Regions from separate parts of the Homo sapiens genome. Here all the other regions are linked to region 4. Evidence: promoter capture Hi-C in human tissues and cell types (Jung and others, 2019). All regions are on one chromosome and are shown on one strand. The core of a region is centred on a gene start or on the middle of the fragment in contact, and the rest is flanking DNA. Distances in the headings are between cores, read along the strand shown. Region 1 has its middle 120 kb from the start of TEAD1. Region 2 has its middle 70 kb from the start of TEAD1. Region 3 has its middle 100 kb from the start of TEAD1. Region 4 holds the start of TEAD1 (TEA domain transcription factor 1).

Evidence for each region. Contacts are between HindIII fragments. The study calls those that stand out against the background at their distance.
Region 1: a fragment that was not itself captured here is called in contact with the fragment with the promoter of TEAD1 in region 4 in 3 of the 25 tissues and cell types used here (heart left ventricle, pancreas and psoas muscle).
Region 2: a fragment that was not itself captured here is called in contact with the fragment with the promoter of TEAD1 in region 4 in 2 of the 25 tissues and cell types used here (heart left ventricle and liver).
Region 3: a fragment that was not itself captured here is called in contact with the fragment with the promoter of TEAD1 in region 4 in 2 of the 25 tissues and cell types used here (bladder and heart right ventricle).

The regions. Positions count from the first base shown.
Region 1 is chr11:12,553,591-12,556,530 of GRCh38, reverse strand. No RefSeq gene overlaps it. Among named protein-coding and RNA genes, the nearest start is that of TEAD1, 120 kb to the left of the region's middle. The HindIII fragment of the contact is 4,953 bases long and covers 1-2,940 here.
Region 2 is chr11:12,602,495-12,605,687 of GRCh38, reverse strand. No RefSeq gene overlaps it. Among named protein-coding and RNA genes, the nearest start is that of TEAD1, 70 kb to the left of the region's middle. The HindIII fragment of the contact is 6,520 bases long and covers 1-3,193 here.
Region 3 is chr11:12,570,739-12,573,868 of GRCh38, reverse strand. No RefSeq gene overlaps it. Among named protein-coding and RNA genes, the nearest start is that of TEAD1, 100 kb to the left of the region's middle. The HindIII fragment of the contact is 8,781 bases long and covers 1-3,130 here.
Region 4 is chr11:12,672,612-12,675,767 of GRCh38, reverse strand. It overlaps TEAD1 (TEA domain transcription factor 1), which reads right to left and starts at 1,347. Exons shown (of 13, transcript NM_021961.6): 1 at 934-1,347; 2 at 207-359. RefSeq lists an enhancer at 1-520 and a silencer at 1,356-1,655. The HindIII fragment of the contact is 23,361 bases long and covers 1-3,156 here.

The DNA of each region.
Region 1 (2,940 bases), core at 170-2,669, 120 kb after region 4:
CCAACCTGTGTAAAATTCCTTTAAGGAAATTACTACACTCTTGCTCTGTTTTGCTTTTTGTTTATCATTCAGTCAGCACATATGGGACACCTCCTGTGTGCCAAGCACTCTGTAAAGCTCTGGGGATAGAGTAATGGGGGAGGCACAGTCTTATTGAATGTTTGACCATGCGAAGCCCCCAGGGGCCAGTGGAAAAAGTTAGTCTGACCTGGATTTGAATCCTGGTTTAGCCTCGTGCAGATTGTGTAATCTCAGGCAACTTTCCTAAACTCTTTGAGTCACAGTGCCCCATTTCTAAAAGGAAGACGGTAAAATCTACTTGATGGGATGTCTTTGAGGAGAAAATCAGAGGAAAATATGTAGTAAGCAGCCTTAGCACAGAAGCTGATATAGAGTAATTGCTCAGAAAATGAGAGCACTTATGATTTTAATTGTTTGAATTACATAGCTAGTTCAACTGTCTTTTTTTTGGACTAGATAGACTCTTACTCTTCGAAAAATTAATCATCCTGTGCATGAGAAATATGCACAAGGTACCAAATTCAAAGTATACAAAAATTAGATGATGACAAGAATATCTTCTCCCTGTCCTTACTCCTTGCCATTAGTTCTCCTCACTAGAAAGAATACAAGCAAGTTCTTGTATATTTCCAGATTTAACTGTATTTCTCAGAGATCGGTCCATAGCAACACTTAGTGCTCATTCTTTTTTTTCTTTTTTCAGCGAATTGAGGTATAATTGACAAATAATGTTGTATATATTTAAAGGGAACAATGTGATGATTTGACATACGTATATATTGTAAAATGATTACCAGAATCAAGTTAGTTAATGCATCATCATCTCACATAGTTACCATTTGTGCGTATGTGGTAAGAACACTTATGGACTACTCTACTTGCAAATTTCAAGTGTACAATACAATAGTATAAACTGTAGTCACCATGTTGTATGTTACACCTCCACAATGTATTCGTCTTATAACTGAAAGTTTGTACTCTTTGACCAACATCTCCCCATTTCCCCCACCCCCCCAGCCTTTGGCAACCATCCTTCTACTCTGTTTGTATGAGTTTGACCTTTTCAGATTTCACATATAAGTGGAATCATACAATATTTGCCTTTCTGTTTCTGGCTTATTTCACTTAACATAATGCCCTCCAGGTTAATCCACACTGTCAGGAATGGCAGAATTTTTTTCTTCTTTATGGCCGGATAATATTTCATTGTCTATATATACCACTTTTTCTTTATCCATTTGTTTCCATGTCTTGGCAATTTGAATAATGCTGCAACGAACATAGGAGTGCAGAGAGACACTGATCTAACTTCGTTCAGATATATACCCAGAAGTGGAATTGCTGGATCACATGGTAGTTCTAGTTTTAGTTTTTTGAGGAACCTCCATATTGTTTTCCATAATGGCTGTACTAATTTACATTCCCTCCCACTGTATACAAGGATTCCTCTTCCTCCACATCCTCAACAACACTTACTTCATCTTTTTGATAATAGCCATCCTAACAGGTGTGAGGTGACATCTCACTGTAGTTTTGACTTGCATGTCCCTGATGATTAGTGATACTGAGTACTTTTTCATGTACCTGTTAGCCATTTGTATGTCTCCTTTGGAAAAGTATCAATTCAAGTTCTTTGTAACACTTTTTAGAAGAGATTATTTGGGATTTCTTTGCTATTGAGTTGCATGAATATCTTGTATATTTTAGGTATTTACCCCTTATCAGATATATGACTTGAAAATATTTTTTGCTCATTCCATAGGTTGCCTTTTCATTTTGTTGTTTCCTTTGCTGTGCAGAAATTTTTTTGTTTGATGTAGTCCCACTTATTTGTTTTTGCTTTTGTTGCCTTTACTTTTGGTGTCATACGTAAAAATATCGTTACTAAGGCCAGTGTCAAGAAGCTTTTTCTCTGTTCTTTTTTATTTTTTCTAGGAGTTTTATGATTTCAGGTCTTATATTTAAGTCTTTAATCCATTTTGAGTTAATTTTTGTGCTGGTGTAAGATAAAGATTCTATTTCTTTCTCTTTTTTTGCATATCAATATCTAGCTTTCCTAACTTTATTTATGGAGGAGACTTTCCTTTCCCTATTTTGTAATCTTGGTGCCCTCATCAAATAATAGTTGACCATATATGCATGCGTTTCTAGTCTCTCTATTCTGTTCCATTAGTCTGTGTCTGCTTTTATGCCAGAACCACACTGTTTTGATTACTATAGCTTTGTTATACAGTTTAAAATCAGGAAGTATGATGCTTCTGATTTTATTCTTCTTTCTTAAGATTACTTTGGTTATTTGGGGTCTTTTGTGGTTCTATGTGAGTATTGTTTTTTTTTTTCTATTTCTGTAAACAACACCATTGGAATTTTGATAAGGACTGCTTTGAATCTATAAATCACTTTGGGTAGTTGATCATTCTTAACTGCCTCATACTTTTTAAATGATTATGTGGTAGTCCATTGACTGAATGTGTCATAATTGATTTAGCCACTTCCCTATCAATAAACATTTAAGTTTTTTCTAATCTTTCACCATGACAACAATAAAGCAAAGCCCATTCTTGTGCTTAGCTTTGACTACTTCTAGTCAAAGAATGGCAAACTAAAGAAATACAACAGGCTTCTTAAGGCAGCTCCTGGCAATGTCACTGGAATTGGGTGACTGCTTGAAGCAGAAAATGCTGATCTGATTGGATACATTCTGAATGTTTTCTCAAAAAACATCTCATTATTCTATTCCTGGAATATTGATACCACCCTCAAATGCTACTTATTTGAAAAGTGAGCCAGGCACAGTGGCTCATTCCTATGATCCCAGCACTTTGAGAGTCGAAGGCAGGAGGATCACTTGAGGTCAGGAGTTCAAGACCAGCTTGGGTACATACTGAGACCCTGTCTCTACCAAAAAAAAAAAAAAAA
Region 2 (3,193 bases), core at 299-2,798, 70 kb after region 4:
TTTGCTATAAGGAATTCTGTTTCTTGAACTCTTAACCTCAAGCAATCCTTTTGCCTCAGCCTCCCAAATTGCTGGGATTACAGGTGCAAGCCACTGCACCCAGCCTAAGAATTTTGTTTCTATTTCTATGAACATTTAATGTCCTTTGGCACTTTAAACAAGTCATCCCATTGATTTCTTGCTTTTAGAGCTTCTGTTGAGAAGTTAGCTGTGATTGTTGTGGGGCTTTTTTGTACGGATAATATATTCTCTTTCTCTACCCTGCTTTCAAATTGTTCTTTTTCATTTTTGAAGCAAATGCTTCAAAGGAAAAATCCATGCCCAATTATGAGATTCCCATCTCTGGGCTCACATCCCTTCATCTCCTGGCCAAGTTGGGAGCTCTTCTTTGTCTCCCAAAAGACATTTAAACCCACTTTTTCTAGTTGTTTATGGCAAAGTATTGTTCTGATATAAGATAGTTTCTCATAAATGGCAGAAGTCCTTTTATGAGTTTTAAAAGTACCTATTTTTAGGTCTTTACTGAAACTGTACATCTTATCTTTTATCATATTGACACAAATTATGTTAAAGACTGTTTAATTATGCAATCTTTGGATCTCTGTGAGTTTGTGTCTATTGTCTGTTATTTCTGCTGGGTGTCTTTTCTGTTGCCTTGCCTTACGGTATGCCAAGTTATTTTAAGATTGTGTGCCAGATCTTATATGTGAAAATTATTTTAGAAATCATGTGAGGACTTGGAAGTTATGTTCCTCCTCTGGAAAGGATTTTACTTTGCTTCTGTGAAGTTTCTGGATCCACTACCAGTTTGGGATAAACTTAATGTAATTTCAGCAAGTGAGATAATTTAAAACATGGCTGCATTTCCTACAAGTGAGTCACCTTCTGATTTGCCTTTACTTCTAAGTTATAGCCCTTTAGGATCCTAACCCAAACATAGCAAGTTTATCACCTTCTATTCCTTGGCAGGCCTTGGATATCTCCTGTTGGTCCCCAGGCCTGCAAGCTTATCAAAGGCTGCTAAACAACTCAGATACTTTTTCTAGAATTGATAAGTGTCTCTAAAAGAAGCTCCTAATTCCATGTTAGCTCTGTCATCTTATGCATCTTGGTCCACCAGTTCTTCACTATCTTTTGGGCCCTTCAGTACTCTAGGCAGTTTTAAACTTTTTTAAAATGCAGTTTTTATAGATGTTTCCAATAGAAGAATGGTTCTCTTATCTAGTCCCACATTAATAACCTCATTTGCCATTTCCTTGAGTGTATTATAATTTTATTTTTTCCCTGAGATGGAGTCTCGCTCTGTCGCCAGGCTGGAGTGCAGTGGCACGATCTCGGCTCACTGCAGACTTTGCCTCCTGGGTTCAAGCAGTTCTCCTGCCTCAGCCTCCTGAGTAGCTGGGACTACAGGCGCAAGCCACCACGCCTGGCTAATTTTTTTATTTTTAGTAGAGACGGGGTTTCATCATGTTGGCCAGGATAGTCTCGATCTCTTGACCTCATGATCCGCCTGCCTCAGCCTCCCAAAGTGCTGGGATTGCAGGTGTGAGCCAGTGCACCTGGCCATAATTTTTAAAATTCAGGAAATTAATTTTTTCTAATTTGTCCATGTCTCTCTCTCTCTTCTCCCCCTTTTTTCCTCTGGTTTTTAAATTTTATTTGTCTGTTATGGTAAAAGGCTTTCCTCAAATGTATGGTAAGCCTTGTGTGTGTGTGTGTCTTTTTAATGTTTTAAAAACAGGGACTACATGCTGATTGGAGAGGTGTGTGTGTGAGAGAGAGAGATCAAGCGGGGTGGGGGAGGGGAGAAAAGATGTTAGTGGACTTCACTGATCAGGGCTAACCTTGCTGTTTCCTTAGGCTGGAGGGGTCATCAAAATGTCAGTATATGTGTGTCTTTTCTCTTGAGCAGGGTTATACTCCTAGCTGCCAACGTCCTGGGAAGTCTCACTGTTCAGTTTTATGACTTTTATTTCTTCAATGTTTAGACCAATGCTTTACCACTTCCTTGAGTTGTTCCCTGAGTTCAAATCATCTCCACCTGGTAATAGAATATGACTACCTCAATTTCCTGTGTTCATCTCAGGCCCAATCAGCTGTGATCAGGGGACTTGGTCACATGTTATAGAGTTGCCACTTTGGCACTGAGGTGAATGTATTTTCCCAAGAGGATTTGAATGGGAGGAAATTATGGGCGTATTCTTCATAAGGCACATTCTTATATCTTGTTTTACTTGAAGCACTTCTGAAAGTTCTGAAATCCTTATATTTTCAAGGAAATCACTCCTCTTGATTTGGGAGAGTGGAAAAATAATCAAGCTATTTTGAGTAGTCAGCTTCCTCTTGTCAGGGACTTAAAAATTTTCATAAGGCCCACTTGGGACACATTCCAGATGATGGGATGTCCATTTCTGCTCAGAGATGGTTAGTACCTTGGCTATTTCAAAACAACATTATCTATGGGATGTGCAGAGGACATAAAATCTGATTAGAAACTTTCTTCATTCTTTAGATAGAGTCTGTTAGTTCTAAATTTACAGGAGGGAAATTTGGGGATAGCCAAGGTCCTACTCTCACCTCATATTCCCCATTGCCAACTGGTGTAGTTAAAAGAGAAAGAATAAACTTTATATTCAGACAGACTTCCTTTTGCGCCAGAGCCACTTACTAGCTGTGTGACTTAGGGCATGTTCTTCAAACTTGGAGGTTCAATCTCCCCCTCTATTTAAAATGGCAATAATGAAGCTTGTTCTGTTCATACTCAATGAAAATAGTAATGCTTATGTGTTAAACACATGTTAAATGTGCTAGTTTTTCTCATGCGCTTATGTCTCACATAATTCAAATTACTCAAAGTCCTATTGCAAACATTTTACCCTATTGGGAAAGCCAGGTTGATTCCTCACTTGTTTTGCTGAGGACATTGCTGGGGCAGGACATAGTGTGTAGGGAGCTTAGATCAATGACTGGTTGGCGTATCATTCATTTAACAGCCGAAATGGGTGGGACTGAGGAAATGACTAGAGAGGTAGCGTCTTGGAGAAAAGGCAAATTAAGAGCTAGCCAGTCAATTTGTCAAGTGCAAGAAGCTCAGTTTTACACAAACGGGACTAAAACTTGAAAAATCAATCATGCATGAAACTTTAAAGTGGGGTTGGGAGGCAGGATCTGGAGAAATTCCCAGAACCACAAG
Region 3 (3,130 bases), core at 333-2,832, 100 kb after region 4:
TGCAGAACACCTTGGTATGTGAGGGTCAAACATGGGTCATCATAGCAGTTTCACTGCAAGATGGCATCAGTCTTGGTGTGCAACAGGCTGTCTTCCTATGGGTACCCTCTGCAGATTCTCCTTTTCTGTGATACTCTCTCTTCTCTGGTACTCTGTCCTGCAAATGCTAGCCACCTTGGCTTCTCTAGACTCTCAGCTACATCTTCTCAACTCGTCATCCTTTTGTTGAATTGATCCCTTCATCATCATCATCATCATAATTATTCTTATTACATAGCTCTCTTTATCCATGGCAAATTTCTTTGTCCTAAATCTTGATATCACTAATGAGATGATATCTTTTTAAGTACTTTACTCAATGCCCTTGAATTATGAGGGTTTCCATGCTGGCTGGTAAGAATATAAACTATTCTTGGCTCTGTGTGAGCTTTGGAGATTTTTCCTTCTACTCTTTTTGGTTGATTCTTTCCTCGTCCTTGGGTAGTTTCCTCACATGCATTCTCTGATCTGTCCTCAGCTGAAGACTCAAGGCTTTGAAGATTCTGGAGTTCTCTCCTGATGTGCCCCTCTCTTCTCTGGTGCTCTGTCCTGTCAGGTCTAGCCACTTTAGCCTCCCTATCTTCCAGCTGTTTCTCCTCAGCTCAAGGAGACTGCTAGCCTCTGCCTGGAATCTCTCTTCTCATGCAGCGACTTGGAAACTCCCTCTAGGCAGTAAGCTAAAATGTCCTGTGTTTTCCCTCTCTGAGATGTCATTGTCCAGAACTGCCTGATGTTCAACATCTGAAAATAATTGTTTCATATGTTTTGTCCTTTTCTCAATTGCTTCAGATGGGAGGGAGTATCCAATCTCTATTACTCCATATTGACCAAATGTAGAAGTCCTTATTTTTTTAATTTCTTTTTATTTTTGGCTATAGTCACTCTGTTGTGTTATCAAATACTAGATTGTATTTTTTCTGTCTAACTGTATTTTTGTACCCATTAACCATACTCACTTCCGCCTCCCACCATCACCATTCCAAGCCTCTGATAACTATCATTCTACTCTATATTTCTGAGTTCAATTGTTTTAATTTTTAGCTTCCACGAATGAGTGAGAACATGCAAAGTTGTTTTCTTCTGTGCCTGGCTTATTTCACTTAACATGATATCATCCAGTTCCATCCACATTGTTACAAACGACAAGATTTCATTCTTTTTTTATGGCTGAAGAGCACTCCATTGTGTATATGTATCATGTTCTCTTTATCCCTTAGTCTGCTGATGGACACTTAGGTTGATTCCAGATCTTGGTTATTGTGAATAGTGCTGCAATAAATATGGGAGTGCAAATATCTCTTCACAATTCTGATTTCCTTTATTTTGGGTATATACCTAGCAGTGGGATTGCTAGATTATATGGTAGTTATGTTTTTAGTTTTTTGAAGAACCTCCATATTGTTGTCCATAGTGGTTGTAGTAACTTACGTTCCCACCAACTGTGTACAAGGATTCCCTTTCCTCCACATCCTCGCCATCATTCCTTATTGCCTGTCTTTTGGATAAAAGCCATTTTTATTGGGGTGAGATAATATCTCATTGTAGTTTTAATTTGCATTTCTCTGATGATCAATAATGGTAGTCACCTTTTCATATAGCTGTTTGCCATTCATATGTATCCTTTTGAGAAAAGTCTATTCAGACCTTTTGCCAATTTTTAAATCAGATTATTAGATTTTTTTCCTATGAGTTGTTTGAGCTCCTTATATATTCTGGTTATTAATCCTGTGTCAGATGGATAGTTTGCAAATGTTTTCTCCCATTCTGTGGGTTGTCTCTTCACTTTGTTGATGGTTTCTTTGCTGTGTGGAAGCCTTCTAACTTGATGTGATCTCATTTGTGCATTTTTGCTTTAGTTGCCTGTGCTTGAGGCACAGAAACTTTGGTTGCCTACGCTTGTGACACAAGAAACTTTGGCCCAGATCAATGTCCTGAAAAGTTTCTCCAATGTTTTCTTTCAGTAGTTTCTTAGTTTGAGGTCTTAGATTTAAGTCTTTAATTCATTTTGATTTGATTCTTGTATATGGCAAGAGATAGGGATCTAGCTTCATTCTTCTGAGTATGGATATCCAGTTTTCCCAGCAGCATTTATGTGTCCTTTCTCCAATGTGTGTTCTTGACACCTTTGTTAAAAATGAGTTCACTGTAGATGTATGGATTTATTTCTGGGTTCTCTATAAAAGTCCTCACCTTTAATAACTTTAAAAGTACTTTTAAAGTACTTATTTTATGGATGCAGACTATATCTACGATTCCTGTTGATTACATTTTTTTTCCTGTCAGAATCCTATGTAGCCTGTGTTGATGGAATATTCCTCAAGGGTAGTTTTGTGTTTCCTTCTACCAGATTATGTTAATTTCTCAACTTTGCAGAATTTCCACAGATGAAAATCCACTGAAAACGAGCTAACAAACATATCTGAAATAATTGTTTTTAGACATCAGATATCTTTGGTATCCTCAGATCACATGGAGAATGTAAATTCAAAGTTGAAACAAATGTATGATGTTGGTCCACATTTTTAAGTTGTTGAGAGTTCCTTTTTTCAATATGGAGCCCAAGCAAAGACTGACAAACTTTCCCATAATCCTTGTGATATGGTTTGGCTCTGTGTCCCCACCCAAATCTCATCTCAAATTGTGATCCCCATGTGTCGAGGAAGGGACCTGGTGGGAGGTGATTGGATTCCGAGGGTGGTTCCTCTATGTAATTCTCATGATAGTGAGTGAGTTCTCACAAGATCTGATGGTTTAAAAGTGAGGCAGTTCCCCCTTCGTGCTCTCTCTCTCTTGCCACTATGTAAGACGTGCCTTGCTTCCCCTTCACCTTCTGCCATGATTTTAAGTTTGCTGAGGCTTCTCCAGCCATGTGGAACTGGGAGTCAATTAATCCTTTTTTTTTTTTAAATATATTACCCAGTCACGGGTAGTTCTTTATAGCAGTGTGAAAATGAACTAATATAGCTTGCATGCTGATGGATAGTTTTTTCTTCCCTGGAAGATGTCAAGCTTTGGGTAGATATCTCAGTTCCAGCTCCCAGTATCACATGGGACTTTTCTGTCTCACATGGGTGTAGAACCCAAATCCTTA
Region 4 (3,156 bases), core at 98-2,597:
ATTGCTTTGATTTTTTAAAAATACAAAAGTTATTTTTTTAAAAAGAAGAAAAGTCACAGAAGTTAAACTTTCTTTAAAGCGGGACTCTGGACTTTTGAAAACAAGTGTTGCTGTTACGAACAAAGACTAGAAGTGTACCCAGATTTTCTCCCCCCCGGGGATCATTTCTCTTCCAATCAACAAACAAATCCCCCAGTATTTCCTACCGAAAGGGAAGGGAAGTTTTCCAGGGAGAGTCTCCTCCTGGGTTTGGTGGTAACTGCGACTCAGTCTTTTTTGGACACAATGTTTCTGCTGACTCCTGAAAATTTTCCACTTGAATGTGCAATGAAGCGGCGGCGGCAGCGGCAGCAACAGTCCTGGAGAAGCGGCAAAGACGACCGTGCCCTTTTTCATCTTTGAGAAGAAGGAGCGAACCCCCCGCCAGCGGCACAAGTCTGCGCAGACCCGGGCCGGCCTCGGGGGTACCCGGCGCCGGGGGGCGGCGGCGAAAGCAGGGGGGTGCAGGCCGGCTCCGGGCTCCGAGGCGGCGGCTCTGCCCGCCCGCGCTCGCTCCGAACTTCTGGCTCCCCAGCGCACCCCGTCCAAGGCGCCCGAGGGTGTGTGCGTGTGTGCGCGTGCAGGCGGCGGGAGAGGGGGCGCGCGGGGGGCGCGGCGCGGCCGGCCGGGGGCCGCCTGTTGCCGCGCGGGCTCCCAGCGCGCGGCCCAACTTGGCGTCCTGGCAAGTCGCGCGGCGGCGCCCGGCCGCTCACCTCGGAGGGGGCGCGGGGAGGCGGGTGTGGGGGCCCGGCCGCGGCCCTCCGCGTGCCCGCCCGCCGTCGCACACAAAGCAGAGCCCGCAAAGAAAGAGCGGCCCGCGAGGGACGCGCCGCCGGCCCCCCGCTGCCCCGTGCGCCCCCCGCACCCCAGCATCCGCCCCGCGCGCCAACTTACCTCGGCCCAGGGAGCCACCGCAGCGCCCGGCGAGTCCGAGGCAAACTTCGGCGCCGCTTCCCCCGCCCTCTGCTCGGTGCCCGGCTCCCTCCCCGGCTCCCGGTCCCTGGGCCCGGCCACCCCACCCCTGCCTAGCACCGCTCCTGCCCCGGGGCCGGCTGGCGCGCTGGGCTGCTGCCCGCGCTCCGGGCAAAGGTGGAGGGGTGGGGGGGCGTCACTGCATGGCCTGTGCCTGGACGCGGCCGCCCCGGGCCCGGGCCCCGCCGCGCGGAATGGCCCGCAGGGTGGAAGCGAGTCTGCAAAGTGCTTGGTGGGCGCCCGCGGCGGGCGGCGGGGCCGCGGCGGCGGCAGCAGAGGCTCGGCTCGGCTCAGGCGGCGCGGCGCGGCGCGAGCGATGCTAAGAATGTTCGGAATGAGGACAGGAATGAAATGAACGCCAGGACCGAACTCGCTCCGGAGGGGTGGGGCCTCGGTGACGTCATGCGGCCTGCCGCCCGGGGCTGGAGGCGGGGCCTGCCGCCGCCGGTGACGTCATGGGGAATCGGGGCGGACCGGCGCGGCTGCTTCGCCGTTGGGGCGCGGGCTTTCGGCAGCTGGGCGGAGTCTCGCGCCCACGGGGGAGCGTGGCTCGCGCGGGAGCCGCCCTCCGTCTCCCGGCGCGGGCTCCGGGCTTTGTCCCGAGCCGGGGCGGGGCGGGGCGGGGCGGACGGGAGCTGCGCGGCTTGGAAGTCCCTGCGCTCGCGCGAAGAACTCTGGAAGCCTGGGTTTCTTCCAGGGGGCAGGCGCCGAGGCGGGAGTTGCGCGCGACGCGCCTACCGTGCCTCAGTTTCCCTAGTCCGGGACGCGGAAGCGCGGGTGACTGCGTTGAGTGCTCCCGGACTCGCGGAAGTCTGCAAGTGTAGGGTAGAGAAGTTGCCTTTCTGGTGATGCAGATTGTTGCTCTCGAGCGCGGTGGACGCCGTCTCCGGGCCAGATTCCCAGCCTGCCATTTCTTCTCTTCCCTTTCACTTTTATAAAAGTTCACAGCTCTCACTCAAGTCGAAATCTGTCTTACGGTTGGGAAAGGAAAACCTTTAGCTTAGCAAAGAAGGATAATTACAGAGTTCGTAATAAACCTGCCCTGCTAGCAAGGTCTTCTCCAAGTCAGTTAAAAAACTAAGTTCACTCATCTCTGCCGGTTGTACTTTTCAAAAGTAACTTCCTAAACTTTGAAATGCTGCATCCGGCGACTTTAAGTTAGCCCTTTCATTATTGAGAAACTTCATTTCATTATTAAAGGAATCATTTTAACCCTGCCATTGGAGGTAGTGACGCAAAAGTGACATAGACGCAGTCGGTAAATCAGAAAACGGGTAAAATCGACCCACTGGGGACAGAACCGTCTAAAGTTTCGGGTGATTGTTATAATTATTTAACAAACTGCAAAGCAGTTCCCGCACAGTGGACCTCATTCGTTCTAGGCACTTGGCTCTCTTTTCCAGCTGAGGCCTCAGGATTAAATAACAACATATTTTGTGCCCGAGGAATCCCTATATCCCTATATATGGGTAACTGAGGAGACTAGACTGTGACTGAGTGCAACACATTTCTACAAAACATAACTTTTACTAATACATTGTTTTCCTTTTTTTTAATTTTTTTTTTATTTTATTTTTGGAGACAGGATCTTGCTCTGTCACCTAGGCTAGAATGCAATGGTGCGATCTGGGCTCGCTGCAGCCTCGACTCCCTGGAATCAAGCCATCCTCCCTTTTCAGCCTCCCGAATAGCTGGAACTACAGGCACGCACCACCACGCCTAGCTAATTTCTAAAATTTTTTTGTAGAGATGCAGTTTCACCATGCTGCCCAGGCTGGTCTCAGACGCCCGGGCTCAAGCTGTCCTCCTGCCTCGGCTTCCTGAAGTGCTGGAATTACAAAAGTGAGCCACTGCACCCAGTCTTATTAATACATTTTTAATTTCAACTCTTGAAGTAATCGGAGTAACAGGCAGTTGTAAAAAATAATAATAAATCGTTTGTTCACTTTGCCCAGTTCTCCCCACTGGTAATGTCTTCCAAAACTCTAATACAGTATCACAATTGGGATATTGACATTGATACGATCCACCCATCTTATTCAGATTTCCTCAGTCTTACTTGTACGTATTCGTACGTGCCTGTGTTTAGGTCTATGCAATTTCCTGACTTGTGTAGGTACCACCACAGTCAAGTACAAGTGCATT